Linked DNA regions of Homo sapiens: regions 1, 2, 3, 4, 5 and 7 are each linked to region 6. The links are contacts of gene promoters, found by promoter capture Hi-C in blood cells and fetal thymus (Javierre and others, 2016). All regions are on one chromosome and are shown on one strand. The core of a region is centred on a gene start or on the middle of the fragment in contact, and the rest is flanking DNA. Distances in the headings are between cores, read along the strand shown.

What was found. The method cuts DNA at HindIII sites, captures the fragments that hold promoters and counts their contacts. A CHiCAGO score of 5 or more calls a contact.
Region 1: a contact is called between a fragment that was not itself captured here and the fragment with the promoter of CALB2 in region 6, in 5 of 17 cell types (endothelial precursors, erythroblasts, M1 macrophages and 2 more). The highest score is 11.3, in endothelial precursors.
Region 2: a contact is called between a fragment that was not itself captured here and the fragment with the promoter of CALB2 in region 6, in 6 of 17 cell types (endothelial precursors, M0 macrophages, M2 macrophages and 3 more). The highest score is 15.1, in endothelial precursors.
Region 3: a contact is called between a fragment that was not itself captured here and the fragment with the promoter of CALB2 in region 6, in 1 of 17 cell types (endothelial precursors). The highest score is 7.0, in endothelial precursors.
Region 4: a contact is called between a fragment that was not itself captured here and the fragment with the promoter of CALB2 in region 6, in 1 of 17 cell types (endothelial precursors). The highest score is 5.9, in endothelial precursors.
Region 5: a fragment that was not itself captured here is called in contact with the fragment with the promoter of CALB2 in region 6 in 4 of 17 cell types (endothelial precursors, erythroblasts, megakaryocytes and 1 more); the score reaches 9.4 in endothelial precursors.
Region 7: a contact is called between a fragment that was not itself captured here and the fragment with the promoter of CALB2 in region 6, in 2 of 17 cell types (endothelial precursors and M1 macrophages). The highest score is 9.7, in endothelial precursors.

The regions. Positions count from the first base shown.
Region 1 is chr16:70,930,607-70,934,856 of GRCh38, forward strand. The region is part of intron 45 of HYDIN (HYDIN axonemal central pair apparatus protein); the gene reads right to left. Among named protein-coding and RNA genes, the nearest start is that of VAC14, 130 kb to the left of the region's middle. The HindIII fragment of the contact is 3,067 bases long and covers 172-3,238 here.
Region 2 is chr16:70,989,331-70,993,606 of GRCh38, forward strand. It overlaps HYDIN (HYDIN axonemal central pair apparatus protein), which reads right to left. Exons shown (of 86, transcript NM_001270974.2): 24 at 2,740-2,880; 25 at 1,988-2,066. Among named protein-coding and RNA genes, the nearest start is that of VAC14, 190 kb to the left of the region's middle. The HindIII fragment of the contact is 905 bases long and covers 1,101-2,005 here.
Region 3 is chr16:70,969,261-70,973,538 of GRCh38, forward strand. HYDIN (HYDIN axonemal central pair apparatus protein) reads right to left here. Exons shown (of 86, transcript NM_001270974.2): 35 at 4,083-4,232; 36 at 1,260-1,499. Among named protein-coding and RNA genes, the nearest start is that of VAC14, 170 kb to the left of the region's middle. The HindIII fragment of the contact is 2,226 bases long and covers 1,447-3,672 here.
Region 4 is chr16:70,889,490-70,893,183 of GRCh38, forward strand. It overlaps HYDIN (HYDIN axonemal central pair apparatus protein), which reads right to left. Exons shown (of 86, transcript NM_001270974.2): 56 at 2,872-3,040; 57 at 2,157-2,395; 58 at 98-215. Among named protein-coding and RNA genes, the nearest start is that of VAC14, 90 kb to the left of the region's middle. The HindIII fragment of the contact is 8,070 bases long and covers 1-3,694 here.
Region 5 is chr16:70,873,235-70,877,120 of GRCh38, forward strand. HYDIN (HYDIN axonemal central pair apparatus protein) reads right to left here. Exons shown (of 86, transcript NM_001270974.2): 63 at 1,583-1,685; 64 at 1,071-1,358. Among named protein-coding and RNA genes, the nearest start is that of VAC14, 74 kb to the left of the region's middle. The HindIII fragment of the contact is 1,886 bases long and covers 483-2,368 here.
Region 6 is chr16:71,356,055-71,360,062 of GRCh38, forward strand. CALB2 (calbindin 2) reads left to right here and starts at 2,669. Exons shown (of 11, transcript NM_001740.5): 1 at 2,669-2,832. The coding sequence starts at 2,739. RefSeq lists an enhancer at 2,400-3,365 and a silencer at 2,468-2,697. The HindIII fragment of the contact is 14,542 bases long and covers 1-4,008 here.
Region 7 is chr16:70,952,952-70,956,923 of GRCh38, forward strand. It overlaps HYDIN (HYDIN axonemal central pair apparatus protein), which reads right to left. Exons shown (of 86, transcript NM_001270974.2): 40 at 2,424-2,597. Among named protein-coding and RNA genes, the nearest start is that of VAC14, 150 kb to the left of the region's middle. The HindIII fragment of the contact is 9,942 bases long and covers 1-3,972 here.

The DNA of each region.
Region 1 (4,250 bases), core at 455-2,954, 430 kb before region 6:
AGGAACCCCGCATTTTCTGTATAAGCAGCCTAAATCTCTGGCTGGCTGACTCTTGAACTATGTGTGCGGGGGGCAAACTGGAAGCAATTTGTAATTAAGGTCTAAAGAATGGAACTGACATCTTAGTCACTGACCACTGCAGATGCAAAAGACCAAAACTTGATCCAACCAAGCTTAATTGTCTGTTAAACCTAAAATATCAACATTCTTTGGAGAATTATAATACAATACAGAGTCTGCAACATAACATTAAAAAATTTCAGGATGTGATACAAAATTACTTGTCATATGAAGAGTCAGGAAACTGTGACAAATTCTCAAAGGAAAAGACAGTCAACTATGCCAACCCTGAGATGACTCAGATGGAGGAACTGTCAGACAAGAACTATATGCAGCTATTATAACTATGATCAGTAAGGCAGAAGGAAATCCAAGCAGATAAACTGAAAAATTTAAAAAGAACCAAGTGGAAATTTTAGAAGTGAAAAATACAGTATCTGAAATAAGAATTCAGGAAGGAACAAGCCATGAATTTTCATACATGTGAGCAAATAAATTTTTTTTAACGTTTTTTGAATTGGGTTTTCTGTCTCTCTTTCTTCTGTTTTTTTTTTTTTTTTTTTTTTTTTAATACAGGGTCTTGCTGTGTTGTCCAGGCTGGATTCAAATTCCTGAGCTCATGCAATCCTCCTGTTTCAGCCTCCTGAGTGGCTGGGACTACAGGTGCACACCACCACAGATGGCCTGAATTGAGTCTTCTATTTCTTGCAGTTTAAAGATTCCTGACAATATATCCACTTGAGACTGTGCTTTTGCTAACGTTAGTGTTGGCTGCTACGCAACTGCTTACAGCCTTGCTACTCAGAGTGTGACCCAAGAGCCAGCAGCATGAATGTGACCTGGGACTTGTTAGAAATATAGTCTCATGCCCCAGCCCAGACCTACGGAATCGGAACCTCTCTGCATATTAACAGGATCCCTAGGTGATTTGCGTGCATATTCAGATTTGAAAAGCTGATATAGAGAAAATCAGAATCACCAGCAGATTTCATTTTATAGGATAAACAGTTAAAGAGCAGTAGGCTATTAGATGGAAGGAAATCTTCCGATTAGAAAGGCAAAAACAGGCTGGGTGTGGTGGCTCATGCCTGTAATCCCAGCACTTTGGGAGGCCAAGGTGGATGGATCACTTGAGGTCAGGAGTTCAAGACCAGCCTGGCCAATATGGTGAAATCCTGTCTCTACAAAAAATACTAAAATTAGCCAGGCATGGTGGTGGGTGCCTATAATCCCAGCTACTTGGGAAGCTGAGACAGGAGAAGCGCTTGAACCCAGGAGGTGGAGGTTGCGGCCGAGATCCCACCACTGCACTGTAGCCTGGGCGACAGAGCGAGACTTGTATCAAAAAAAAAAAAAAAAAAAAAAAAAAGGTAAAAACAATCCACAAAATAAAAAAAAAAGTGATTGGCCAGGCGCAGTGGCTCACACCTGTAATCCCAGCACTTTGGGAGGCTGAGGTGGGTGGATCACCTGAGGTCAGGAGTTCGAGACCAGCCTAGCCAACATGGTGAAAGCCTGTCTCTACTAAAAATATAAAAATTAGCCGAGTGTGGTGGCGGGCGCCTGTAATCCCAGCTACCCGGGACGCTGAGGCAGGAGAATCACTTGAACATGGGAAGCGGAGGTTGCAGTGAGCCGAGATCGAGCCACTGCATTCCTGCTTAGACGACAGAGCAAGATTCTGTCTCAAAAAATAAAGAAATAAAAAATAAACAAAAACATACCCACACATAAAACAAATATTTTTGAGCACCTTTCTGCCAGGTGGGAGACTCATTAAGTGATCAAAACAGACAAAAGCCTCAGCCTTCATGAGGCTTATATTTTGCAGGGGCAGGTAGGCAGACAAAATCACATAAAAATCTATGGTATGTGAGATGGTGATGAGTGCTAAGAAGACAGGGAAGGGGCTAAGAAGTGGGTTTTTTTTTTTGTTGGTTTTCGTTTGTTTGTTTTGTTTTTGCTTTTGTCTTATTCAATTTTAAATAGAGTGGCCAGGGAAGGCCTTGCTGGGATGTTTAAATAAAATCCTGAAGAGGAGTTCAGTGGCCAACCAGCATGTTTTTTTTTAAAGGTTCACCTCATTAACAATTCAAGAAATGCAAATCCAAGCAATAAAAATATTCAGTTGTTCACCCATCGAATCTAGTCAGCAAGGATTAAAAGGAATGCTAAAACCTATAGCCTGTGAGGTCAGGGGTAAAATACACACCTTTCAACCCTGGAATGACATGTTTAGAAATGTATCCTAAGGAAGTAAGCATGGATATGTACAAAGATTCCGCTCTAAGTGAGACACTTTTGGTCTCTCCACTATGATTTCCTTCCATGGATATTAAACTAATTTGGCAACAAGCAAGAAAAACAGAAAAATACACTTTATGTTTCTGCAAACTGTGTCCTCTTCCCCATCCTGTTTCCAGAACCAGAAAACCAGGGGGTGTGATGATGGAATTACCATGTAGCTACACAGTACCACAGCAAAGACGGGTGAGACAGCTGGGGATGGGGAAGAAAGGAGAGCCCTAGTCTGGGACGGGCTTGAGAACAATTTAGGAGGGGGACTCCCTCACAGGGCTCCTGGTTGGTCATGGGGTGAAGGTGCAGAAGTGACAGGGTCAGGGTGACTCTGGGATTTGGGCCTGGGAGCTGAAAGAAGGGTTGGGGAGGAATATAGGGCCAGGAAGAGGTCTGGAAGAAAGGCAGCATAGATGATGAGCTTGGTGTGGGCCGTGTTGAGTTACCAGTGTCCGAGGGACAATCTGAAGAAGTGTCAGGAGCCATGGATGGACTAAGGGCTTGGGAGGCAGTGCAAGAACCAGGAAAAGGAGTGCCTGCTTTGGAGTTGGACAAATTGGGCCTGCCCCCACCGCCTTCTGGCCATGTGACCTTGGGTGCATCACTTAACTGTGCTGCATTCCAGCTTCCTCATCTCCAAAATGATGGTGATGATCATATCTCCCTCAGCGGGTGTTGTGGAGACTGGAGGTAGATGGTGATGGGATCTATTCACAGTTCCCAGCAGGGAGTGTCACATAGCAGGAATTCAGCACACAGTAGCTATTAGTTGTTAAAACATTGGTTTAGCTCTTTTTCATGTGGCTTCTGCCTTTCTCTCCTCCCTCTTTTGGGCTGTCCCTCTGCCTGGAATGCCCTTCACTTCGTTTTGGAATTTGCAAGCTTTTCCTGACTCCCCTCCTCTCTTCCTCCAACCCATTATGTATGATCAGGTAGCACTGAAGTCACGCATGGGATGGGGGTCAGCCTTAGACCAAGCAGGAAGACACAAAGGCTGACGCTGGAAACCTGCAGAGTGACTAAGGATGGATGGAGGCGGGTCCAGAAAGAAACCAGGGAGAAGGAGGAAAGCCAGAAAGGGCGGACCAGGATGCTAGGAAAGAAGAGCGATCCAAGGAGGGTACGATCCACAGTGTGAAGCTCATGGAGGAGGACGTCAAGCAAGTCAAGGCCTAACCCATGCCCATTAGATCTGGAAATGGAGAGGCTGGAGCCTTGGATTCGAGGGAGTGGTGGAGACAGGAATCAGGGTAGGAAACGGGGAGGCAGAAATGAGGGGTGACGAGGCAAAGCCAGCAAGTGGAGACAAGCATGAAGGGAAGGAGAGAAATGGGGTGCTTGTCGGGGGCACCAGGGTTGAAGAAAACTTTTTTTTTTTTCATTTTAAAGGTGGGTGATTCTTGAGAACATCTTCAAAGCCTGTGAGAAGAGCTGAAGCCAGAGCAGAGAGGAAAACAGGTGTGCTGACGGTCGAAGACATAGAGCAGTCCTTTTGATGAGGAAGCAGGAAGGTCTTTAGTCATTCCCTTTCACCTTGGCACTCCCCCTGGAATTTTCTTTCACTTCCTGAGAATGCATCTAGTCTCAGCAGTTTTTCTTCAGCTTAAGTGTTTTCAGACCAGGCAACCGCATTAGTCCAAGAGTCTCAAGAAGTCCCCCTAGGGAACATGATTGATTGTGTTTTGTACTAAGCTCAAGTGATACACAAGCCTGTCTCCAAATGGATGACTGTCATAAGGTCCTTATCACCTCCATCCAAGGTCAACAGAGCACATACAAAAGTACCTGCCCTGAATCTGGTAGTGGGGTCTGGGGTCGGGGGCTGGGGGTGGGTGGTCAGGTGACAGCAACTTGAACTGACACTAAAATAGGAAAATCCACATGCTCCTACT
Region 2 (4,276 bases), core at 303-2,802, 370 kb before region 6:
TCTGGCCTATTCTTGAGTTTTCTATGACACGCATCTTTGAAAACAGAAAAAGAAGAATTAATATTTAAAAGACAAATATTTTATATACTCACACATACTCATTCTAAAAAATTTTTAAAATATAGAAAGCTCCAAGGAAAGAAATAAAAGTCCATCTCAGGTTATACTGTAGATAAATATTATTATATATATGTGTGTATATATAGTGTATTATGTGTGCATACATATTTGTATTCTGATTTTTCAGTTGACCTAATATGAGTGCCATCTTCCCATATGACTGAATATTCTTCACAAACATCACTTAAAGTATTTTAGAAAGTTGATTGTACATGATACAAATTTAAAATATTCAAAAGGATATATGGTAAAAAGATAAAAAAAGACTTCTATCCCTACAGTTCTCCGGTTCTCCCCTCCTGAGGTACCCACTGTCCAGTTTCCTATATGTTGAATTTAGTTATTCCTCTTAATTCAGCTGATATTTACTGGGGACTTACTAAGAACCAGTTCTATATCCTGAGGATATGACGATGAACAAAACAGAAAAAAAATTCCTGCCCTCATGAAGATTAAATTCCAGAGATATTCCACGCACAAGCAAAGATATCTATGTAACTGTTTGAGAGATAACACAGTAGCTAAGAGCAAGCAAGATGGTCGAGTCTTCCAGCTCCACTGCTTGATGGACGTGTCCCTGCATTGGTAAAATGGGGAAAGATAGTGGTATCCACCTCACAGAGGTGTTGGGAAAAGTAAAAGAGTTAATGTAAAAAATTGCTTAGCTGGGGGCGATGTCTCATGGCTGTAATCCCAGGACTTTGGGAGGCTGAGGCAGGTGGATTGCCTGAGCTCAGATGTTCAAGACCACCCCGGGCAACATGGTGAAACCCTGTCTCTACTGAAATACAAAAATTAGCCGGGCATGATGGCAAGTGCCTGTAATCCCAGCTATTTGGGAGGCTGAAGCACGAGAATTGCTTGAACCCAGGAGGTGGAGGTTGCAGTGGGTCAAGATGGTACCACTTCACTCTGGCCTGGGCAACAGAGTGAGACTCTGCCTCAAAAAAAAAAAAAAAAAAAAAAAAAAAAAAAAAAAAAGCTTAGGTCAGTGCTCAGTTAAGTGTTGGTTGCTTTCATAGACTTTTTTCTTTATACAAATGGTAGCACACAGTGTACTTTGTTTTGCACTGGGTATTTTTTCTTAATATATCAAAGATTGTGCCAAATTAGTATGTAGAGAACTTTCTCATTTTTAAAAAAGAATTTCATAGTATTGCCTTGTGCAGATGTAATTTAGTTTATTCAGACGGTCTCCTATTGGTGGAATTAAGTTGTTTCCAATATTTCTTGCTTTTACAAACAAAGCTGCAGTGTACAAGGATGGTTACATGCTTTATGCAAGTGCAGAGGTGTATCTGGAGGATAATTTCTAGAAGGGGGACAATGCATTTTAAATTTTGATCTACTTGCAAAGTTGTATGTTATAGAGGTTATGCCAATTCATACTCCTACCCACACTGTAGGAAAATCCCACTCAACACTATTTTAAAAGATTGCATCACATCATGGACATACAGCAATTTATCTTTCATTTTGTTTTTCATTTTTTGCTGTTTCTAAAATGTTGTAACAAGCATCTTTGTATGCACATCTTTGTATCTCCAATAGTTTACTTAGGCCGTCATTCTAGAAGGAGAATTTAAGGGTATTAATTTTTAAGCCCCCTTTGTTTTTGCTACAGAATTATTAAGAAAATATTTTTCCTTTAGTATCCTCTATCTAGGGTGTAGGAACATCACAAGTGTAGGCTCTCACTGAGTGTTGGCTCTGGGGTGTTTGGCTGGGAAGAAATGTGGGTAAAGCTGTACGGCTTTGTCCCAATTAAACCCAAGCATTGTACTGGCCACTCTGCTCCTGATTCTGCCTTTGTTTTATGGGAAGGACCCTTGACCTGCCTACCCTCCCCATGGAAAGGACACCGTACATCTGAGATCACACTGGAAGCTTTCGTTTTTCTTAGTTCTTTTTCTTCAGGCCTGGCATCTTCATCCACAAGGACAGTCCTAGGAAGTTTAATGAAATGCAGAGATTCACTCATTGGGCTGTCATCGCCACACAGTCTCAGGTGCATAACAGCCCTGTCTTCCTCTTCTCCCTCTACCACACCCCCAAACGTAAGGGGGATTCTCAATCAAGGGACACCTTTCTCAAGAGGTCAGCTGGTCAGGGCCCTGTTGCCCTATGCCCCCAAACATGTGGTCTAGGCCACTGAACTGGTCAATTTTTCACGGGGCTCAACCCTTTTTTACTGGCCCACCAAGCCCATGTTCAACTTACAAAAAGTCCTAGGAAGCTCCAGCAATTCTTCAGACAATGTGGGTGTTCTATGTGCTCAATGTTGTTTCCCTATTTATTGGAGCATTTTATTGTGAGGACATAATGTTTGGTGAATTGATATATCCTTTCCTGCTTGCTACCCTGGACCCAATCCTGACTGTAGACCTTGGACATACAGAGAGGACAATATGATAGGAAGGGCTCAGTCCCCCAGGACTCATGATGGTACCCTCTCCCTATCCCAGATGTCTAGTCTGGGGCCTACACATAGAAGACATTTATTAAACTGTTGACTGGGTACTGGATGAATGAACCAATGAGGGATGAGTATTGAGAATGTAAGTCCGTGTAAAGAAAAGAAAAGCTACTACAAATAATCTATGTTGGCTTTGCACTTACTTAACAAAATCATTTAAATCCATCTCGGGGGACTCTACTGTAACTAGGATTGCTGGTGGGCTGGCAGCCTCTGAGGTTGCTGGGATGGACTCCATCTGGGACACTGGGGCACTGTAGGGCTTCTTCGGCAATGTCACAAACCTACCAAAGCATGGGACAGGGAATAGGGGGAGACAGGAGACATCAGTTTTTGCAAATCAGTGTTCAGTGGGCTCTCAGTTTCTAAGGCCAAACTCCAAATCCTAGACCAGGCAGATCTAGTAGGGACCACCCTACACCCTCCCTTGAACTTGCCTTCTTCAAATCTCAGCTAAAATTTCACTTGCTCTTAAAAAGTTTTCTGACTACCAGTCTAGGCCCAACTTCTTTCCTCTGAGTGTCCATAGCCCCCTGGGCTTCCCCTTTCACACTTATTTTTACCATCCCTGTTAGATGTGGACTCGCTGAGGACTGGTATCCAATATGGTGTCTAATCCAGTGCCTGGCCTGGAATAAGTAGTCGGCATGGTCATGAATGAATGAGCCACTGGGGATCCTGCTCCCAGTTCACCAGAAAGCAGGGCTAAGACTCAGCTGAGGCCTGGGAAGCACTCTCTGTTAGGGGCCTGGAAGTGCAGGCTCGGGTTTCTTACATGACCTTGCCTCCTACAATGTGACCTCAGTGCCTTGCTTGCCACACCCTAGTCCTGGTCCCACCAATGAGCTGTGCTGCCACTCAAGTTCTCTGAGCAGAGGAACCCAGGGGAAAAGCAACTGTACCGGCTGGTGCTGAAGCCCATATGTCCAGGTTCCACTGATTAAAAAGGCCTTTGGATGTCACAAAGGCCAAGGTTGTGGGGTCACCCCCATTCTTCCTGTTTCCCCTTGGTGCATGGCTTCTTCTGGACCCCTCTCTGACCCTCCCCAACCTATCTCAAGCCCTTGATGTTAATTTCAATCTATTTCACTTATATACTCATTCTGGCCCCATCTGTACTCAGAGGCTCAGCACAAATGTCATCTATTATGTGAAGCTCCCACCACTGGCCTATCTTCCCACCGGAAGAAATTCTCCCTCCCTTGGAAGCTTCAGAGCATTTCATCTGCACTTCTTTTAGGACACTGTCCACTCTAACCATGTCCTAGAGTATCATTTCCTAAATTTCAGGGATCCTAGAGTATCATTTCCTAAATTTCAGGGATCCCACTACCATCTTCGTGATTTGTAAGCACACAGTTTGATGAGTTGTATACACATCTGTGGAACTATCACCACATTAATAAACAGAATGTTTCCATCATCCTAAAAAGTTGCTTTGTGCAAACACTCATCTGCTTAATATCACTAGAGATTAATTTGCCCACACTTTCATAGAAATGAAATTGGAAACATGTACAAATTTGTGTCTGACTTCCTCTGTTTGGCATGATGTTTTTGAGATTTGTCCATGTTTTTGCATGGAGCAATGATTCTGTTCTTTCTTTGGAGCAGTATTCCATAGTGTGGATGTTTTCCCATCTTTTTGTTGATGGACACCTTTACTATTTCTAGCTTTTA
Region 3 (4,278 bases), core at 1,310-3,809, 390 kb before region 6:
TAAAGATCAACAGATTCAAGAAACTCAGCAAATCCCAAAATCAATAAACCAAAGAAATTTATGCCAAGACACATTATAGTCAAACTTCTGTAAACTAAGACACAGAAAAATTCCTGAAAGCAGTGAGAGAGAGATGAAATCTTCCCTACAGAGGAAAAAAAATAATTCAAATGACATTGGATTTCTCATTAGACCATGGAGGCCAGAAGAAAGTGGCATATATTTCAAGGGATGAAAGAACTGTCAGCTCAGAATTCTATATCCAGTGAGCAAATCCTTCAAGGATGAGAGGGGAAGTCAAGGCATTCTCAGATGAAGGAAAACTAAGAAATTTCTATCAGCAGGCATACCCTAACAACAGAGCTAAAGGTAGCTCTCTAAACAGAAAGTTAATAATAAAAGAAGAAATCTTGGCGTATCAGAAAAGAAGAAAGAACAGAAAGAGTAAAAAGAGAGACAAATATAATACATTTTCTCTTTCCTCTGGGGTCTTCAAATGTATGTTTGACAGTTGAAACAATAATTATAGTGCTAGCTAATATAAGAAAAATATTTAAGACAGTTATATTAAAAATCGGAAGGCTGAAGGGAGTTAAATGGAGGAAAGTTTTCTAAATACACTAGAACTGCTAAAATGTCAATACCAGTGATTGACATTTAATCATTGACAGTCAATGATTATAATGTTATGTATAGATAATGTAATACCTACAGCAATAACTAAAGGAGCTATACAAAGAGATACACCCAAAAAACACTCTGGGTAAATAAAAATGGAATTTTAAATAATGTTGAAGCAACTGATAGGAAAGTAGGAAAAAGTAAACAAAAAATTCCTGAAAGCAAAAAATTCCAAAAAACAATAAAACATGCAATGGCAGACTTAAGTCCTGAAATAGCAATAACTACACTAAATGTAAACTAAATATATCAACTAAAGTCTAAATATATCAACTAAAGTTAGAGACTGATAGCATATTTTTTAAAATGACCCAATTACATGCTGTCTACAAGTAACTCAACTTCAAATACAATGATATTGACAAGTTGCTATATACGGTTCTTTACTGTTGGAATTTTAACCATGAACATGCATTAGCTTTTCAATTAGTTGCTTAAAATGTCTAGGATTTTACTCAGGTCAAGGGAAGTAGGTCAGAAAAGGCTATAGGGAAGTAATCACTAAATTGACAAGGAAGAATTCAAGGGGAAAAAGATGGGAACGTGTAGAAAAACAGTTTGGTTTGACCTCTGCTCACCTTTTCTTCTATGAGATACTGCTGATCAAATTCTAAGGAATAAAACTCAATGGGGAAGTTGCAGGGATTCTTCACTATCACCTCGGCCTCGTCTCCAGGTGCACAAAGTAGCAGTGGCCCCAGATCCAGGACTGAAGGACTAAATTCCAGGCGTGGCTCTAGACCTTGCCCACGTGCCAGGAGGGTAAGCTTTTGAGCACTCTGGGCAATCTGAAACACCAGGGTTTGGCTGTAGAATTTCTGGAAAACATAAAAACAAAACAAGCATCTGAGTTTATTTCCATTACATGTCATGTAAAACAAAACACTGCTGAGGGGAAAAAACTTATCTATTTAGATTAAGGGAGAAAACTTATTATAAAATTGCATAAGAGTAATTTTTATTACCGAATTAACATAAGTACTGGGTATTTAGCATGCCAAGCATTGTACCAAGTGCTAGATATCAAATAAATTCTGGGTATCTAGCATTCTAGCACTTGTACCAAGTGCTTCATCGTTTGTAGCAAGCCCTCTGAGTATCACTTTCACATCCCTCAAATCTTCCAGTGTGCTCAGACTTCCAGCTGCCACTGTCTGCATCTCTGGGCCTGAAGGTTCTCATTTCATGGAACCTGCTGTCCATGGGCAGGGGAGGGCAGGGCAAAAATGCCAGGGAAATGATACCATCTGGAATTAGTTATTAAGCAATGACTCTGGGGATTTACGGTAAAAAGACCCCAGCTCCCTTGCTCCTGAGGAGTGATGATTCTGAAGTGTGTACTTTGTGTATTTTCCCAGAGTTTGGCAGAATGCCAGAGCTGGGGCATTCAGTTCATCAGATACAATTACAACCAGATACTGGTTAATAGTGATATCATAACTACTCACATGTTTTCTCAAAATGGTACCCAAATCTACATTGCATCCCATAGTTCCTAGTCTGATTTCACTGGGGAACCTATTAAACATGCAGATCCTCAGATTCCATCCCTAGAAATCCTGACTCTGTAGGGGCAGAGTAAGGCTGGGATTCAGCATTTTTAACCAGATGCCTAGGTTATTCTGGTATAGCTGGACTTGTAGCTTGGTTTGAGAGGAAATTACGCAAATCACAATCTGAAGACCTCCTATCTTAGCTTGAAGGGGAAAAAGCAAATGGATGGAATGTATACAGACATACACACAGAAATATCTATTTCTGGACACAAAAAGATAAATTACTGGCTAAGAAGGGTTTCTCTATAGTTATGGGCTTAGTACCTTATGATTCAAACTTCTGTATTTTAATTGCTCCTTATGGAAATCTTTCTAAAACATTTCATTCATTTTCTTGAACATGTTATCATGCCTAAGAATTGTTGGTGTGGATGTCACTGATTTCTTGGTGCTGCTGATGTTGATGATGATGCAGATATATGGATCGTATGGGTTGCAGGGCTAACCAATTCCTTGTATACAGCTAATAAATTTCTCTCTTAATTGGTGGAAACATTTTACTAACTTTGACCAATTCCAACTCAACATTCATGAAACTGCTTGAACAAATCTATTTTTTTTTTTTACTATATTTCCCTCATTAAGTAATGGAAAAAAAATCCACAATCTTGAGTAAACCCTTTGAAAATTTTAAGACTCTTTAAGAATGACAAACATATTACTAATTTTCTTTTAAATGGACTGGGAAGATTTTGATAATGATAAAAACATGGGTTTTATTTTAGAATGAGATAGGAAGTCATTTGCTTTTTCTCTTTCTCACTGAAGGTGCTTAAGCATTTCCTCAAAGCGATTACAAGGAAAATGGGAGTTAACCATAGCTCTTCTATAAAACACAAATCAATTTTTCTTTTAAAATAACAGAATAGAGAAAAATATATTTCCCAAGTGCCTTAGGCTTTGAATAAAAGTCTTTACAGTGCAACCTCTTGAGATTCTCTGGTTCGAGGATTTTATTAATTTTATTATGTTCCTGGTCAGAAGTAGCTTTGAGTTGATTATGTTCACAAAAGAAACATTTATGAGGCTCCGGGAGGCCATCTACTGGGACGTACTTTTCACGACTACTGATGATAATAGTTAATAGTTATTGAGAGATTTACTTACATAGAGCAGCACACTGTGTACTTTATTCAATACTGTGCATTTAATCTTCAAAATGACCTTAGGAGGTAGTCATTACAGGTTGACAATAAGTTATCTGAAACCCAGGGGCCAGATACTTTCAAATTCAGATTTTTCAAATAGTAAACACAGTGCATATACCCTATGTTACCTAATACCCTCAGCAGGGTCTGGGGCAGGTCCCCTGTAATCAAACACATTAACAGTTGTTGGCAATGTTTGACTCTGAAAACTAAGTTGTACAAATAAAGGTTAAATGGTGTCATGTCAGTTCAGATGAGATTTTTCTGCCAAATGAGTTTTAGTGCGAAGCTTATGAAATCTCAAACCCCCCACCCCCAGTTTTGGATCTTACTGGGTTTCAGAATTTCAATAAGGACTTCTGATATGCAACATGACTATTTTTTCTTTTATCTATGAGTGAACTGAGACTGAATGAGGCTAAGTAATTTCCTCAAAGACACACAGCATGTAAGTGTGCAGAGGCAGAAGGCTACTAACCCAGGCCTTCTGATAAAAACTGATGTGTTAGTCCAATGATTCCAGACCACCAGGCCACACAGCTCCTATGTGAACCAGAAGTGCTTGAGATGCCATATTCAGAAAAGCAAGGCACAGGTCACTCGAAGCTTCCCTTGAGACCCAAACAAGCATGGACTTTGAGTAAAGCTCAAAGAGGTCCAGAGAATCTAAATGAAGCCATATTTCTTTAAAGCTCACCTCTTCTTTTGGCATGAATTTCACTTGCACGTTGGACTTCTCACCAGGATCCAAGACTCCAGAAATGGGCTGGATTTCGAAGATCCGTGTCTTTGGCTTTAATTCAGCGCGTAGTTTCTGTCTTAAGTACTTCGGCATGTGTTTCTCCAGCTGGTTTATAAATATTAGAGAATTAGATCATCTTCTATGGAAAATG
Region 4 (3,694 bases), core at 890-3,389, 470 kb before region 6:
TTCAAATCCTGTTATCCTAGGGAGGTATTTGGTGTCAAGAGCTAATTGGGAGTTGGCCTTACTGGGTATCTGTAAGAACAGGGAAAAGGACACGCACCTGGCCTGTGGTGGTTACTTCTTTCTGAATCGTGTCAGAGAACTTGGCTGCTCTGGAAGAGCCAGTTTTGTAGAAGCTCTCACTTTCTCGGGATCTTGCATGTCTGACGTGGCTGGCTCTGATTAAAGAAGCAAGAGTATACCCTTAGATTGTGGGGTCGGGGGTAACATTAGACACCACCTGTCTGTTTTCTTGCAAGGGCCCTTCTCCCAGGAATGGGGGAAGGGGCCCTTCTTTGCCCAAGAGGACACTGGAGTGGCATAGTTAGCTAGTTAATCACTGACCAAACTCATTTAGCAACTGTAAGGAAACTAGGCGGTAATTATACTTATTAAATATGATTTATAGGGACACCGAAAATTACTGCAAGAAGATAGTAAGTTTTAAATGCCTACTTGAGTTCACTGGAAAGCAGTGTGCAGAAAATTACTTGTGGATGTCAAATGTTTTACTTAATCTGATTTTAAAAAATGAAATGGCAAATAAATTAAGCTCTTTTCTGTATCTTCACATTTATAGTTGTGATGTTTTTAAGGTTTAGTATAAGCAGTAGTTCAAATATAGGTCTTGGTAGTTGTTCACTTGCCTTGAAACTAGTTTATCCAATAATTAGTTTGCCTAGAGACCAGTTCACCTAAAATATTCAAATGTATCTGAAATGCATCTTAAACTTTTGAGAATTTTATATATTCAAGCATTCACTTGCTTAATGACCAGAACACGTGAAGTTCAACCCCCTTTCGTGTGTTTTGTATGAACTTGTGCATGCTAAAATAACAAATAAATAAAAACCAATGTAAAGCAAAACAGAATTAAGTCATAATCATTATAGACATTACATTGTTATAAATTGTAAAAAAATTCAGTTGAAATTAAACTAGGAAGAAAGAGACTTTACACAATTCAACTCTACATTTTAAAAAATGTTCAAATTTTGTCAAAACAGAAAAGAATAGCTACAGAAATATAAAACAACTACAATGTAAAGCCATACATCTTATTTAAAAGAATTAACTAGAAAGTCAAAATTAAATCAGAAGTGCCTCAGGAATCGGTAAAAACCATCCTTAATTTGCCCGAAAAAGAGTATGGCAGCCCAGTAGAAGCCAAAAGCACTCAAAAGACAAATTGTTTTGGGTGAATTGATTGACAGCCTCCTTTTGAAGAACATGGAGTTTTGCTGTTGGAACAACTATTAAGGTAGCTTTGTGACGGTGTCTTCATGGGGAGAAGGCAATAATAGTAACAGGCAATAACAATAATAGTCCCTGGTAGGCTGAAGGCATCACCGCACTTCCTCTCTTCCACGCTTCCAGAGCAGCCCCACCATGAAGCACTGCTACGATTTCTTTTGATTTAGCTTCCTATGATAATAATTTCTTGGCGTTGTACAGAATGACACATAGGACAATGATCTAACAAGTCCTTCAGCACGCCAGGAGCACCAGGACAACAGACAAAATTCCAGGCAGAAGACTGTGTTTGTTCAACTAAAATTTATGATATATTCTACAGGAAATCTATGAAACCTGGAGTCAGAAGATGTGGGCTCACACCAAGATCTACTGGTGATTTCGTGTATAGTATTTAAAAAAAAATTTTTTTATTTTTTATTTTTTTGAGACAGAGTCTCGTTCTGTCGCCCAGACTGGAGTGCAGTGGCGCGATCTCGGCTCACTGCAACCTCCGCCTCTCAGGTTCAAGCGATTCTCCTGCCTCAGCCTCCCGAGTAGCTGGGATTACAGGCATGTGCCACCACACTTGGCTAATTTTTGTATTGTTAGTAGAGATGGGGTTTCACCACATTGGCCAGGCTGGTCTCGACCTCCTGATCTCAGGTGATCTGCCCGCCTTGGCCTCCCAAAGCGCTGCGATTACAGGTGTGAGCCACTGCGCCCAGCTTTTGTGCATAATCTAAATGAGCCATTTCTAAATCTTACTGATCTCACCCACAAAACGGGATTGGGTGAATTTAAGTAAGATATACGAAAGCTCTTTATAAAATATAAAGCATAAATTAAAGAGGGAATGGAATGAGTTAAGTAAATATTTGTCTTACGCTTTCTTTTGATGAATGGGGCTCTCCCCTGTCAGCTTATAAAGGGCGAACTTGAAGTCAGTAACACCTTGATTTTCTATGGTGAAGGTGGTGCTTTTACGAGTGCCACAGATCAAAGCTCCAAAGTTGATGACAGAGGAGGGGGTGATGTTGTATTTGGAATATACTGCATTCGCGGAAAACTTAATTGGGATGCTGGCAATGATCTCACCTCCTTCTGAAATATTGGGCTCAATAATCTAAAACGGGAAGAAGAATGAGCAAGTCAGCCACTGCTGTAGCTACAGAATTCCCATGATTATCTACCCCATTCCCTATTTTCATCATTGACATGAAGCCATGTTCTTTATTTCACTGTCTTCGTATTATTGCGAACACTAAAACAGAGCTTACTGTGTACCAGCCAAGGGTCAACTTAGCCAACTTTTCCTCATGTTTTCAGTTCCCTGCTCATCCTTTGCACTTGATGATGGGACTCAGCTTCCCTGCCTCTGATGCTCCCCAAAGACCTGGGGGCACATTTCCTCACTGGATCTAATTCTGATGACTTTGCCTGATAGTTAGGACAGAACCCCGGTGTATCCTATCTGGTTGCCACCCAGGCCAGCCCTCCCCTTTTCTCCCTGGAGCATGGATTAGGTCATGTATCCTTCTTTGCAACAGGAGTCGTACGATCCTGCCATTGAGGCAGCCCCTCCCTTTGGAGCTCTCTTACCTGACAGCGCAGAACAGGCTGGTGCTCAATCTTCACTTCCTTTTTTGCATGGAAGAAAACTTGGACATTTGTGGGTTTTTCTGTTGGGGTCAGTGAACCCTTTTTGGGTTGGACTGAGATCATGGAATTTATATTAGGTGTTGAAATCCCTACAGAGTCCACGGAAAAGCTGAAAGACAAGAATAAGAAGTCAGCCTAGGTCATTATCCCGGGAACTCAAGATCCCAGAGAGGAGACTCTAGATGGTTGAGTGCCTGCTGTGTTTCCAGCCCTGTTTAGCCACTACGTCCGGCGGAGTCCACTGTGCTTTGTACATCGTGATCGCCTCTCCTTAGCCAGGATTGACCAGGCTAGGAATTGATGCTTACGGCAAAGACAGCCATACTCTATCCCATGGTCAAGAGAGGCCATTGCAGGAGATCTCTGTCCAACAGGGACATTGGATATTGAAAAAGGACCATCTAAATTAATTCTCTCTTTCTCTGTTTGTGTCTGTCTGGCTTTCAGCACATGCAGAGCGAACAGTGACACAGAAACCAGAGAACCTGGGGAGAGAGACAGCAGGGAGGGGGCAGGGGTCCTGTAACAGAGGTACTGGGGAGGGAAGCCCATGGCCTACTGGAGGTGAGGCAAGAACCACAGGAAGAAGCTGGCTCATGAGACCGGCAGAGGGACTGCCGTAGGCTCAAGATGTATCCCACCTAGGCAGAGGTGGGATGCCCGGAGTTGCTGTGGGGCTCTGAATGTCACCGCCATGCTCCAGGAGACCCTGGCTGCCCAATTACCTGCACCCCTGTGCTTCCTTGCTTCCCTGCGCATTCTT
Region 5 (3,886 bases), core at 176-2,675, 480 kb before region 6:
AGGATAAGTATGTCCCATGCCATGTTTGGGATATACATATACTAAAAATTATTCATAGTTTAACCAAAATTCCAATTTATTGAGGAGTCTTGTATTCTGATTTGCTAACTCTGGCAATCCTATTATGGGCATGAAATCTGAGTTCTGAACTTAGATTCACTGCTGGCTCCTGCTTGAGCCTTGGTAAGAGAGATGTCACCCTGTAGCCTCAAACAGGGCTGAAACACCAGGTATATGAGGAGTGTTGATTTCAACCCATGTTGTGTAGACCACCTAACGGTACATTCCAGGACTTTAATTAAGCTTCTAGGTAAACTATGGGACTCTGTTTATAACTCACTTTTTAGCAACCAACCACATAATTAGGGCGCTTAACCAATGCCTTCTGATGATAACAATTTGATGATAAATTTTTCCAATCCCCAAAAATGTCAACTAAATGAAGCTTTAGTGCTTGATAGATTGCAGCACAACATGTCTTAAGCTTTAGTATAAAAACACGTCACCTGGGGCCTTGTTAAAATGTGGATTCTGATTCAGTAGGGCAGGGGGGTCTGAAACCCCCATTTCTAACAAGCTCCCAGGTGATGCTGATGCCATAGGATCTCAAACTGCTCATTGAGTAGTGGGGCTGTGCAGAGTGATGTTCTAGAAGTGCCCAAACCTATACTCTCTCTAATAAACAGACAATGCCAACACAAGCCAGCTAATAAATGCAGACAGGAAAAACTGCAAGGCATTTATTTGCTTATTAGTTGAACCAGAATTTGAATATCAAACTATAAGCTCCTTAAGAGTAGAGACTTCCTTGTTAATTTTGAAACTCCAGGGATCAGCATGCCTGGAACATGTACTTGGTGATCAATACATATTCATCGAGTGAACACATGAATAAATGGAAGGATGGATGCCATGACTGAGCCAGGCATGCCAGAGCATAGAGTAATGAAGAGGAGAGTCAGTCCTAAATTCTCAGGGAGGTAACCAACCTGTTATTTAAATTTACTCTCATTTAAAACAAATGACCCAGTAGCCAACACTTGCCAACACTTCACTGCTGTTTCTCCCACCTGCCACCAAGTCTTCCATATCATTGTCCTCGATGATCTCTGTGAACTCAGAGATACTTATGTCTTCCTGGCTGGTGGGGGCCACCAGTCCATGGATGTTGTCCAAGGTGATGTCATCCTCATAGCCCTCTCCCACCATGTGGATGGAGGTCTCCTCATATTGGTTGTTGATCACTGACAAGTGGATGATACCTCTCATCCTCCCAACCTTCTGGGAGTGGAAAACGACATCAAATTCAGCTGTATCTCCAGGAGAAACAACCAAGGAGGCTGTGTGAGCTTTCTTTGCTGCAAAGAGAAGAGAGAAGATATGATTTAGAACTAGTTTCAAGAAATGTGTATCTATAAAGACCCCTGTTGAAGGGAAAGTAACCCTAGAATGGGAACGAGCCTTAGCTAGAGGCCAGTGGTGACGAGACTGGGCATTCCCCTCTGGCTGGGCCTTGAGTGGTCCCCTAATGAAGCAGCTACTGAGATCCATTGCCCTCTAGAAGCACCCTCCCCACACTTACCTTTTACATGTGGTTTATTTTCCTCTGTGATGTAGATATACGCGGTGGTGGGCCTCCCTTTCAGGGAGAAGACTCCTAGCTCATCCTGCAGGTCAACATGCAGCTGGCAGAAGGAAAGCAGGGATGAGTGCTAGGCTTACAGGCTGCTCATGGGCTTTGAGTCTGGGGTGAGATACTGTGCTGTGTTTGGGGCAGGACCCCAAAAAGGTATTATGCCTAGTATTCACTTTTTTGAATTTCTTAAGAGAGATAAATAATAAATATTAGACCTGGAGAGGACAGAAGAACATTCAGTCAGATCAGCCCTTGTTATCTGAGTGAGGAACTGGAGGTCCAAGGAGTATGCAGAACTTTCCAGATCACGTAGGTAGTGTCAAAATGTGGTTGCCAACACCTCTGTCATTAACAGAGGCAGTTATAAAATATACGCTAGGCCAATAAAATGCAAATGAATACTTGTAATTCTATAAGGGCCTGCATTGATGTCAATTCCTAAAAACCAGTATCTCCTAGGTGCTATGCATTAGTTTAGTTGCCTGATAGTGTCATGTTGAGCATCCTACCACGATAAGAGAAAAAACAAGGTGGGCATTTGACCTACTTGGAGAAAGTGGTGGTTTCTGGCCCATTATAAGGAAGATAAGACTAAAGCCATACATCTGATTTCGGATATGAGACATCAGCAGGCATTGTTAGAAGACAGTAATGCTGGCACCATCATGAAAAAGATTGAATAATACAAAATATGAGGCATGGAGAAGGCAGAAATAGTGATATCACACGGGAAGCTTCTGAGATAAAAAATTATGTATTTAGAAACAACTTTAATAAGAAACTATATGGAAGAATTATATGTAAGAATATTGACATAAAAGATCTAAATAAATGGGTGGAAATCCTAAATGTTCCTGGTGGAGAGTCTAAATACTCCGCAAGCAGAAATCCTACCAGATTCAGAGGCTTCCCGATGGGATTTTTAAAGGAACGTTATAAAATAATTATAAAGCTTATTTGAGAGATTAATAGGTGAAAATTGTTAAGAAAAATGGCAAAAACAGGGAATGGGTGGATAGGAATTCACTGAACTAGATGCTAAAACATATTATAAAGCCACAATAATGGAAACGATGCAGGGTAATGGTAAACTAGGTAACCTGAGCTCAAGGCAACAACAATTGCTAGACTAAATATATATAAAAAAATTTTTTTTAAAGCATAACAGAGCTACGAAGAGAATGAGGAGTAAATAGACCAGGATCTGTGAGAGTATAGAAATCCAGCAAGGTCAGTCTCACTTTCTGGGCAGTTTTTGTCCGCCCAGAGCATTTGCCAGTCAGGAAAAGGTAGACAGGAGGCTTGTCTGCACATTTTTTTTTTTTTTAATTTTGATACGGAATCTCACTCTGTCACCCAGGCCGGAGCGCAGTGGTGAAATCTTGGCTCACTGCAACCTTTGTCTCCCGGGTTCTGGCGATTCTCCTGCCTCAGCCTCCAGAGTAGCTAGGATTACAGGCGCGAGTCACCATGCCCAGCTAATTTTTGTATGTTTTTAGTAAAGATGGGATTTTACCAGGTTGTCCAGGCTGGTCTCAAAATCCTGATCTGCCCACCTCAGCCTCTCAAGTTGCTGGGATTACAGGCGTTGTCTGTACTTTTTATGGTCTTTTGGTGCTAAGAGGGCAAAAGTTCAAGGCCTGTGGAAGGTGACAATGCTTTCTTCTGGGCTGGGACCTCAAAAGATGAAAGGTGAGCTGGATATAAACCAGCTTTCCCAAGGGTGGCAATCCTGCTCTGAGTCATCTGGGTAATCCAGAAAATCTCAAACCCTAACACTGGCTTAAAGTGATCCTGAATTTCTAGTGCCCCCAAGTGTTGGGCAGAAGCAAATGAAAATTGCCTCTGAAGAAAAATATGATCCTTAGTTTAATGATTTCTAAATAACTTTTACAATATAATACCCAACACATGAACAGAAGATAACCAGGCACATGAGGAGGCAGGGCAACATGGGCAAAGATGAGTAGAAATAGTAGAAAAAGATGAGTAGAAATACCAGAAAGAGCCACAATGACTGTGGATTTTGGAATTATCTGGTATAGACTGTAAAATGCCTATGATTACTGTGTTCAAGAAATAAAAGTCATGTCTGACAATTTCAGCTAGAAACTAGAAACAGTAAACATGAATTATTCAGATTTTTAAAACAGCCTAATAGAAATTCTAAGACTGAAAAATATAATAACTTAAGGACTTAATGGAAACTTTAACAGTAGATTCAATACAGTTAAAGGGAGAGTTAATAAA
Region 6 (4,008 bases), core at 1,419-3,918:
TTCAAAGAGGTTAAATAGCTTTGCCCAAGGCCTCACAACCAGCAAGAGGGTTTTGAGCCCATATCTATCTGACTCCAGGGCAGGAACTTGTAACTGCTCAATGTGGCTGTTTCTGCAGGACTCAACTTGGAGATAAACCACAAACGCACCAGCTTGGGCTCCTCAGTCCTCCAGGAATGGGCCTCCCAGAAACAGACCAACTGTGCATCTGAAATGAACGAGGCAAGACTGTCCCAGTAGACAGTTTAAAGGTCACTGTGGCCACCCTACTGTCATACCCAGAACCATGTCCCCCTGATCTCAACAGCTCTGGAAAGCAGGAAGTAGGAGCTTCACTCTTTACTCCTCACCAGGAAAACCAAAGTAGCATGGAGACACTGGCTTTGCTTCTTGGAGAAGCAGGGATGAGCTCTCTCACCCAACACAGATTTGGGACAGGGGCCTGAATGACAGGTGTCAGAGCCCACAGGGCTGAGCCTGGCCCCGTGGGGGGCTGTGCAGCGCAGTGGTTAAGAACTTGTGTTCTGGAGACAGTATCTGTCTTAGCCTTTCCCGTTGGCCTCCCGTTGGGGTCAGCCCCTCCAGGATCCATTCATTAGCTACCCCAGGGGAGGTGATGCTGACTGAGAAATTTCTTGCCAAGCCAACCACTGATCACTGGCTCCATGAAGGGCGGCAGGAGCCCTAACTCATTTAATCCTCAGAACAATTATATTATTATTATTATTACTATTATTAGAGACAGAGTCTCGCTCTGTCGCCCAGGCTGGGGTGCAGTGGTGCGATCTTGGCTCACTGCAACCTTTCCGCCTCCCGGGTTCAAGCGATTCTCCTGCCTCAGCCTCCCAAGTAGCTGGGATTACAAGCATGCACCGCCACGCCTGGCTAATTTTTTTTTTTTTTTTTTTTTTTTTTTTTTTAGTAGAGACTGGGTTTCACCATGTTGGCCAGGATGATCTCAATCTCTTAACCTCGTGATCTGCCCACCTCGGCCTCCCAAAGTGCTAGGATTACAGGCATGAGCCACGGCACCCAGCCAACAATTCTAAAAGGCGTATGCCCACATGCCCATTTTGCAGAAGAGAAAAACTGAGGCAGAGACAGGTTATATAATTTGCTCAAGGTCACACAGCTTATTCTGGGATTCACACCCAAGCAGCCTGATTCTTGAGTGCCTACTCTTAACCACTGAGTCATCCTGCCTCCCTAGGGACTTTGGTGAATCTCTCAGCAAGGTGGATGGGTACCTCTAAAGCTAGCTTTTGATGACTTCTCCCCCCAGTCTGTTCCTGCAAGTAACTCTAAACACATTCACCCTAGGCAAAGAACAAGTGGTTTTGGAACCTGCATTCTCTATTGCCCCTTTGAGACTCGCTCTGGGCTTGGCCCTCTCTCCAAGGGACAACCCTCTCTCTGTCTCCTCCTGGGTTCCCCTCTCCCCCAGCGACCTCCTTTTCATTCTCACTTACCTCCTTGCCTTTCACTCTCCTCTTGGAAGGTGGTTCAGCTAACACTCATTAGCACATGTTAAAGATCGCCAATTCATGTCTCAGTCACTCCGTAGCAGGAGAGGGGAGAAAGGAGGGATGATGCTGTCACTCTGTGGGTAATGTGTCTTACCTTACCACACCACAAGGCCAGGACAGACCCCTAAGGGCTCAGACCGCAGGAGAGAATGGGGAGAGGGCCCAGCTCCCTGCTGGGGAGTCCTGTCTGCTGCCCTCAGGATGTGCGCTCAGTAGCTGCGTCTATTTTCTCTGAGACCAGCTCAGAACATCCCCAAGACAGAGTTGGACGTTGTTCTCTGTCCACTGGAGCAGGCACATTCCCACGATGTCCCTAGGTGGGCGTGGTTAAGACCTGGTACGGGTTGATCTAGTTCTGCCACCCCCTGGCCAAATGTCTAAAAGCCCCCCAGAGCATGGCCAGCGTGAGGCAGGTACCAGGGGTGGAGGGAGGCTCCGAGGGGACGGATATACGAAGACCCAAACAGACAGTGGAAGCCCCCCACCCCCACCCCACACCACTTCCATCGGAATCCTCCCGGGGCACTGCTGATTCCAGCTGCTCCCCACTAAAGCCTTGAGAACTCTTGGCTGCTCTGCAAGACTGAGCCCCATGAAGGAGCCACGTGCGGCGTGGAAAGAGTGCTGAGTTCAAATTGTAGCCCTGCCACTAATTTGCTGGGCCAGTCACTTAATCATCTGAAGTCACAAGTACCTCATCAGAAAAGTGGTCCCAGCTCTTCCTGCTGTGGAAGGATCAGAAGAGAGGAGGCACGACAGAGACCTAGTGAACTCCGAAGCCCGAGTGCTAAATATTTGTCAAGTTTGTGTTAGTATTACTATTAGTGTTGTTACTGCTGTTATTATTATTGCTACTGCCAGCAATAATAAGTGGTGGATGTACTCAAGACGGTCGGGAGGGAAGGCAAGGGCAGCCTCTCCCTCATTTTCACCGAAAATCCTCCGGGTGTCCCTGGCCCCGCGCCGAGGGGTCTCAGCGCAGAGGTAAGGGCCCTCTAGGAGTCCGGGCCGAGCCTCTCGCGCCGCCGCCCCCGCCGCGCCGCGCCCCGGTCGGATTCCCTGAGCGCGCGCGCCCCCTTCTGGCGGCCGGGCGCAGGCGCAGGCTCCAGAGCGTATATAAGGGCAGCGTGGCGCACAACCCCAGCGCGAGTGCCAGAGCCCAGCCGGCGCGGAGCGGGAGCGGTGCAGGCTGAGGTCTCCGAGCGGCTCGCCATGGCTGGCCCGCAGCAGCAGCCCCCTTACCTGCACCTGGCCGAGCTGACGGCGTCCCAGTTCCTGGAAATATGGAAGCACTTTGACGCAGACGGTCAGTAAAGCTCCCAACTTCTGTGCCCATTGGCACCCAGGGGACCTGCGGTGAAGGGGGCAGGGGGCGGCGCTGAATGCGGGCAGGTGTACGTTTGCCCTCAGGAGGTGGTCTGGTCGCAGAGCCTGCTGGGGTAGTGGTCCCGGGTTTGGGAGACATCCGGCTGCTCTGGGCACAACTGTCAGTAACTTTCTTCCCTAACATAGATGACCCAGAGCCCACCCGCATTTGCACCTTTATTCTGAGCAAGTGGGAGCTTTCTCAGAGAGGTGGCCTGGGCTGGGAAGGCCTCCAGGTTCCCCCTGCCATCTCCCCCACCTCCCCTGCCTTCAGCTGCTCCAGCCACAGGTCTCAGAAGACCACTCATTTCTTTCCTCCTCTTCCCCTTTTGTTGAATGCTAGGTTAGCCCCCTTACCCTGCTGGAGGCTGGGATAAATTAGGGGATCCTGAAGGGAAACGTGGCCTCCCCAGCTTGATTGGCTGGGAGCAGGAGTGGAAAATGGCATTGGGGGCCCTGAACACCCCCCTGCTTCCTTTGTCCATTTTCCAGCCGCCGTGGGCATGTAGGTTTCCCAATACAGCAGCAGTGGGTGTGGTGGCGGGCAGCGTTGGGGTGCCAGTCCCAGACCTGTTCCCTCATAGTGATAATCCTGGGTACTCTTGGTGACTTCATCTCTGGGTAGGGGGAGGCACCACCCTAAGTGCCTCAGTGACTAACCCTCTGCTCTGTGTGGTCTTGACACTGACTCACCCAAAAAGCAAGGGCCAGACCAAATGACCTTTGGAGGTAGCCCCCAGCACTGGGATTCCAAGTGTCTGTGGTGGTCTGACTCAGGCATAAAGGGTGGTCCTCCTTTAGAGGCTTTTGATATCACTAGAGACTCTGTTTCTGTTACTCCGAAAAAATAAGTGATCTGATTTCCCTCTCTACGCACAGACCTGGCTAAGATGAGCATCCAAAATATCCTGGCATCTCAGACATTTTGTGGTGTCTGTAGCTACCCTCCCCTCGGGTAGCTAATGGCTCCTGGAGGGGCTGACCCCAAAGGGAGGCCAACGGGAAAGGCTAAGACAGATGCTGTCTCCAGAAGACAAGTTCTTAACCACTGCACTGCACAGCCCCCCAGGGGGCCAGGCTCAGCCTTGTGGGCTCTGACACCTGTCATTCAGGCCCC
Region 7 (3,972 bases), core at 639-3,138, 400 kb before region 6:
GTTTGGACCAGCTGGGTTCACGTGCTCAGCAGCCCCTAGGGCCAGTGGCTACTGTATGGCACAGGCAGGTTCGGGTTCACTGCCACCACTTCATTCCAGCCTACCAACTCCACAGTGACAACAGATGCAGGAGAGATGTGAGGGCCTAACCCCTCCATTGCAAAGGCTCTATCCAAAGACCCCAGGGACCTCCCAACTGGGAAATTCAGCCACCTTCTACTCAGGGCTCATTCTATTTGGGCTTCTGGCAGTCTCTAATTCTGTTCATTTCTTGATTCAATGAATCCTTTATGAATCTTTATTATGTGTCAACTATGCCAGGCATTCTTCCAGGTGCTGGGACTACAGTGGGGAAAATTAACACAAGCCCCTGCCTCCAGAGCTTACATGGGGTCGGGGCAGACAATAAAGGAGGTAGATCAGTATTAGGTTAGCTAGACAAGTGGGCTGTGAGATTAGGCCAGCAGGAAGGCTCCCTGTCCAGCAGGGCTCTGAGGGACGTGAAACTCCTCCTCGCTTCTCCCTTTCCTAAGGCTCTGGGGCCCTTTCCTTGACTTCCCTGACAGTCCCTGTGGCCCTGGCTCTGCTGTCTCTACTTCCCGGCTTCCCCATGACCCCTCCTGAAATGTAGGTGTTCCCCATGGTCCTAACCTGCCTCGTCCAGCAAACATTCCTCCTGGCTCATTCTGGGCTTTTCTGGCTGCTTCACCTACCCTAGTGGTTTCATGGAGAAAGACTCTCCCAGCTGTGTCTCTAGCTTGATGTTATTTTCTCAGACCAGGAACTCAAATTCACCCTTAGGCACAGGACATAAACATGGCTCCACAGATCACTATGAAATGTAGACTATTTCACAGAAAAGGAAATAAAAAATTTAAGAGAACCAGCATTAGGGCATAGCCAGAGGTTCTCACTAAAGAGCTATTTCTCTTATCTTCCCAGCAAAGAATCTTCCATTTCCCTAAGTGTCCCACGCAGAGGTATTGAGGGGAGGGGACAACCCTGAAAGTCCCAGCCAGTTTTATCAACTAGCAGGCTGGAAGCATTCTTGGGATGACGTCATGCCATGGGCACTGACATAGGAATGCTTCCCCTCTGAGCAGGCGCTCTGCTTGGTGTTTAGTATATTTTCCCATCAAGCAGCTGCTCGCCTGCCCTGAAGGTCCTCAAATAACCTGATGGAGCCAGAATTCTCAACTTTTTGTAGGAAGGCCACACCAGACCTCCCCACTATGCGATTCCAAAACTCAATTCAGGCTAGGCACAGTGGCTCAATCTTGTAATCCCAGCACTTTGGGAGGATTGCTTGAGGCCAGGAGTTTGAGACCAGCCTGGACAACATAGCGAGACCCTAAAAATTAGCCAGGCATGGTGGTGCATGTCTGTAATCCCAGCTACTCTGGAGGCGAATGTGGGAGGATCGCTTGAGCCCAGGAGGCTGCAGTGAGCTATGATGGTGCCACTGTACTCCAGCTTGGGTGACAGAGAGATACCTTGTCTCAAAAAAAAAAAAAAAAAAAGAAAGAAAGAAAGAAAACAACCCCCCTCCCCCAAACCCAACCCAATTTATTTTCTTCTCCAGCAAACTTTTTCTTCCTCCTGTGTTCCCTATCTAGGTACATGACATCGCTCTCTCCTGGATTCTGTGGCTAGGAAGCTGGGCGTGGCCATCTTGAATCCCTCTTACTCCTTCAATTCTCCACCATGCAGCTGGCTGTCGGGTTGGCCGGCCCAGGCCCATTTGTCTGCAGCTTCACTATCGCTTCCTTTACATGATAGTCAAGGGCTACCTTCCTATTGTGATTTTCTGATCATTTTTCCATAGTGTGAAACTGTCCCAATAGCTCTTTTCCTTGAACATAAAACTCAAATTCCTAATCTTGGCATTCAAGGTGAACAATGATTGGCCTCAACCTGCCTTCCCACCCCTAATTTATGACCAGTTTCCCTGCTTTTTTGGTCTGGAATGTCCTTGTCCCCATCTTTGCCTACTAATATTCTCTTGCTTCTTCAAACCCATTTCCTTGAAAACTTCCCACATCACCCTTGTTGGAACCCATTCATCCCAAAGTCGCTCTTTCAAAGAAGCTGGTATTTCTGTTGCAAAATTATTTTCCTCTGCTCTGAGTGACCGCATGTCTGCTTCCCCCACCAGGTGTCAGACTTCCAAAGGTGTGGGCTGTGTCTTATTCATTGTCCTGGTCCCCACAGTGGCAAGAGCACGCTGGCATTGGGCAGGGCAGGAGACCCAGGAATGCTTCGTGAAGAGAATTCTCCTCTGGGCTATGAAGTTGGCAGCATGCTGTAGGGCAGACTTCAACCAGGCTGTGGGAGGAGAGCTCAGTGGGGCACAGAGAAGATGGGTGTTGTCAGTGGGGGTGTTGGTGACTTGACCACAAAAACCCAAGAGAATGGGCTCTTACCAGCCTCCTCTCCTTCCTTCACGGACTGCTCTATGGCAGCCCTGATGCAGAGCTCACGGGCCCGGATCCCTGGGATGTTGTTGCTGTTGGCCACAGCTTCCAGCACAATGGAGTCGATGCTCAGGCAGGCTGCGTTGTAGTACTTGGCCACGCTAACGGCATTGGCTGACTTTCCTATTAAAAAGACCAGGGGGTTGAATTTCACGGTGCTCATTTGCTCAGTGTCCCAGAGAGAAAAGGTCTCAAGAGCAGAGGTCCCTGCAAAGTGATCTCTCTGAGTGCTCTGCCTCCTTCCCATGTGGCTGGAGGTGTTAGCAGCAAAGAGAAGGAAGACCTCAGCCTGGAGTCAGGGCTGTGGGTCTGATTCTAACCCTGCCACTGATGCGTGCATGCTGTGGCAATCTGCATCCTCGCTGGGTTTTCCCTCAGTTTAAAAAACAGATTCTTTTTTTCTTTTTTTTTGAGATGGAGTCTCACTCTGTCACCCAGGCTGGAGTGCAGTGGCGAGATCTCAGCTCACCGTAACCTCTGCCTCCTGGTTTCAAGTGATTCTCCTGCCTCAGCCTCCCAAGTAGCTGGGATTACAGGCACCCACCACCATATCTGGTTAATTTTTTGTATTTTTAGTAGAGATGGGGTTTCACCATGTTGGCCAGGCTGGTCTCGAACTCCTAACTTCAAATGATCCACCTGCCTTGGCCTCCCAAAGTGCTGGGATTACAGGTGTCAGCCACTGCACAGGGTCTGTTTAAGAAACAGGTTCTATCAGATGATCTTTAAAATACTTTGTAGTTCCTCCTGTCTCTGATTCTAATAGGAAAACTTTTTATTTTAAAGAATAACTTGTGTTGATTTCTTTTCTCATTTCAAGGTACTTTCATTACAAAAAAAAAAAAAAGCAGACAATTCAGATATAACAGACAAGAGAAAAGAAAAAAAATCCATCATCCACTCATTCAGGGATAGTACCGTTAGCCTATGGTCGCTAAGTACACATGTAACTGTATTTCTTATAAAAAAAGAAATAGGTGATGTGGTAGGCTGAATAATGGCTCCTCCAAAGATTTCCACCTGCAAATATGTTACCTTTTAGGGTAAAAGAGACTTTGCAGATGTGATTAATTTACAGATCTTGATATGGGGGGTTAGCCTGGATTATCCAACCGGGCACAATGGGTCCCCATGAGAGGAGAGCAGGAGGGTTGGAGTCAGAGCAGGTCAATCAACCATGGAAGTAGCAGGAGAGACTGGGAGATGCTATGCTGATGGCTGGGAAGGAGGAAGAAGGGGCCAGGAACCAAGGGTTGCAGGCAACATTTCTAGAAGCTAGAAGAGACAAGGAAACGGATTGTCCCCCAGATCCTCCAAGAAGGAACACAGCCATGCTCACCCATTTTAGACTTCTGTCCTCCAGACCTATGGGAGTATAAATTTGCATTATGTGAAGCCATGAAGTCTGTGGTCACTTGTTATAGTAGCAACGGGGCACTAATACTAACTACACACCGTGAGTATGGCACCCTTTCTCATGTAAAATGATATATCATGA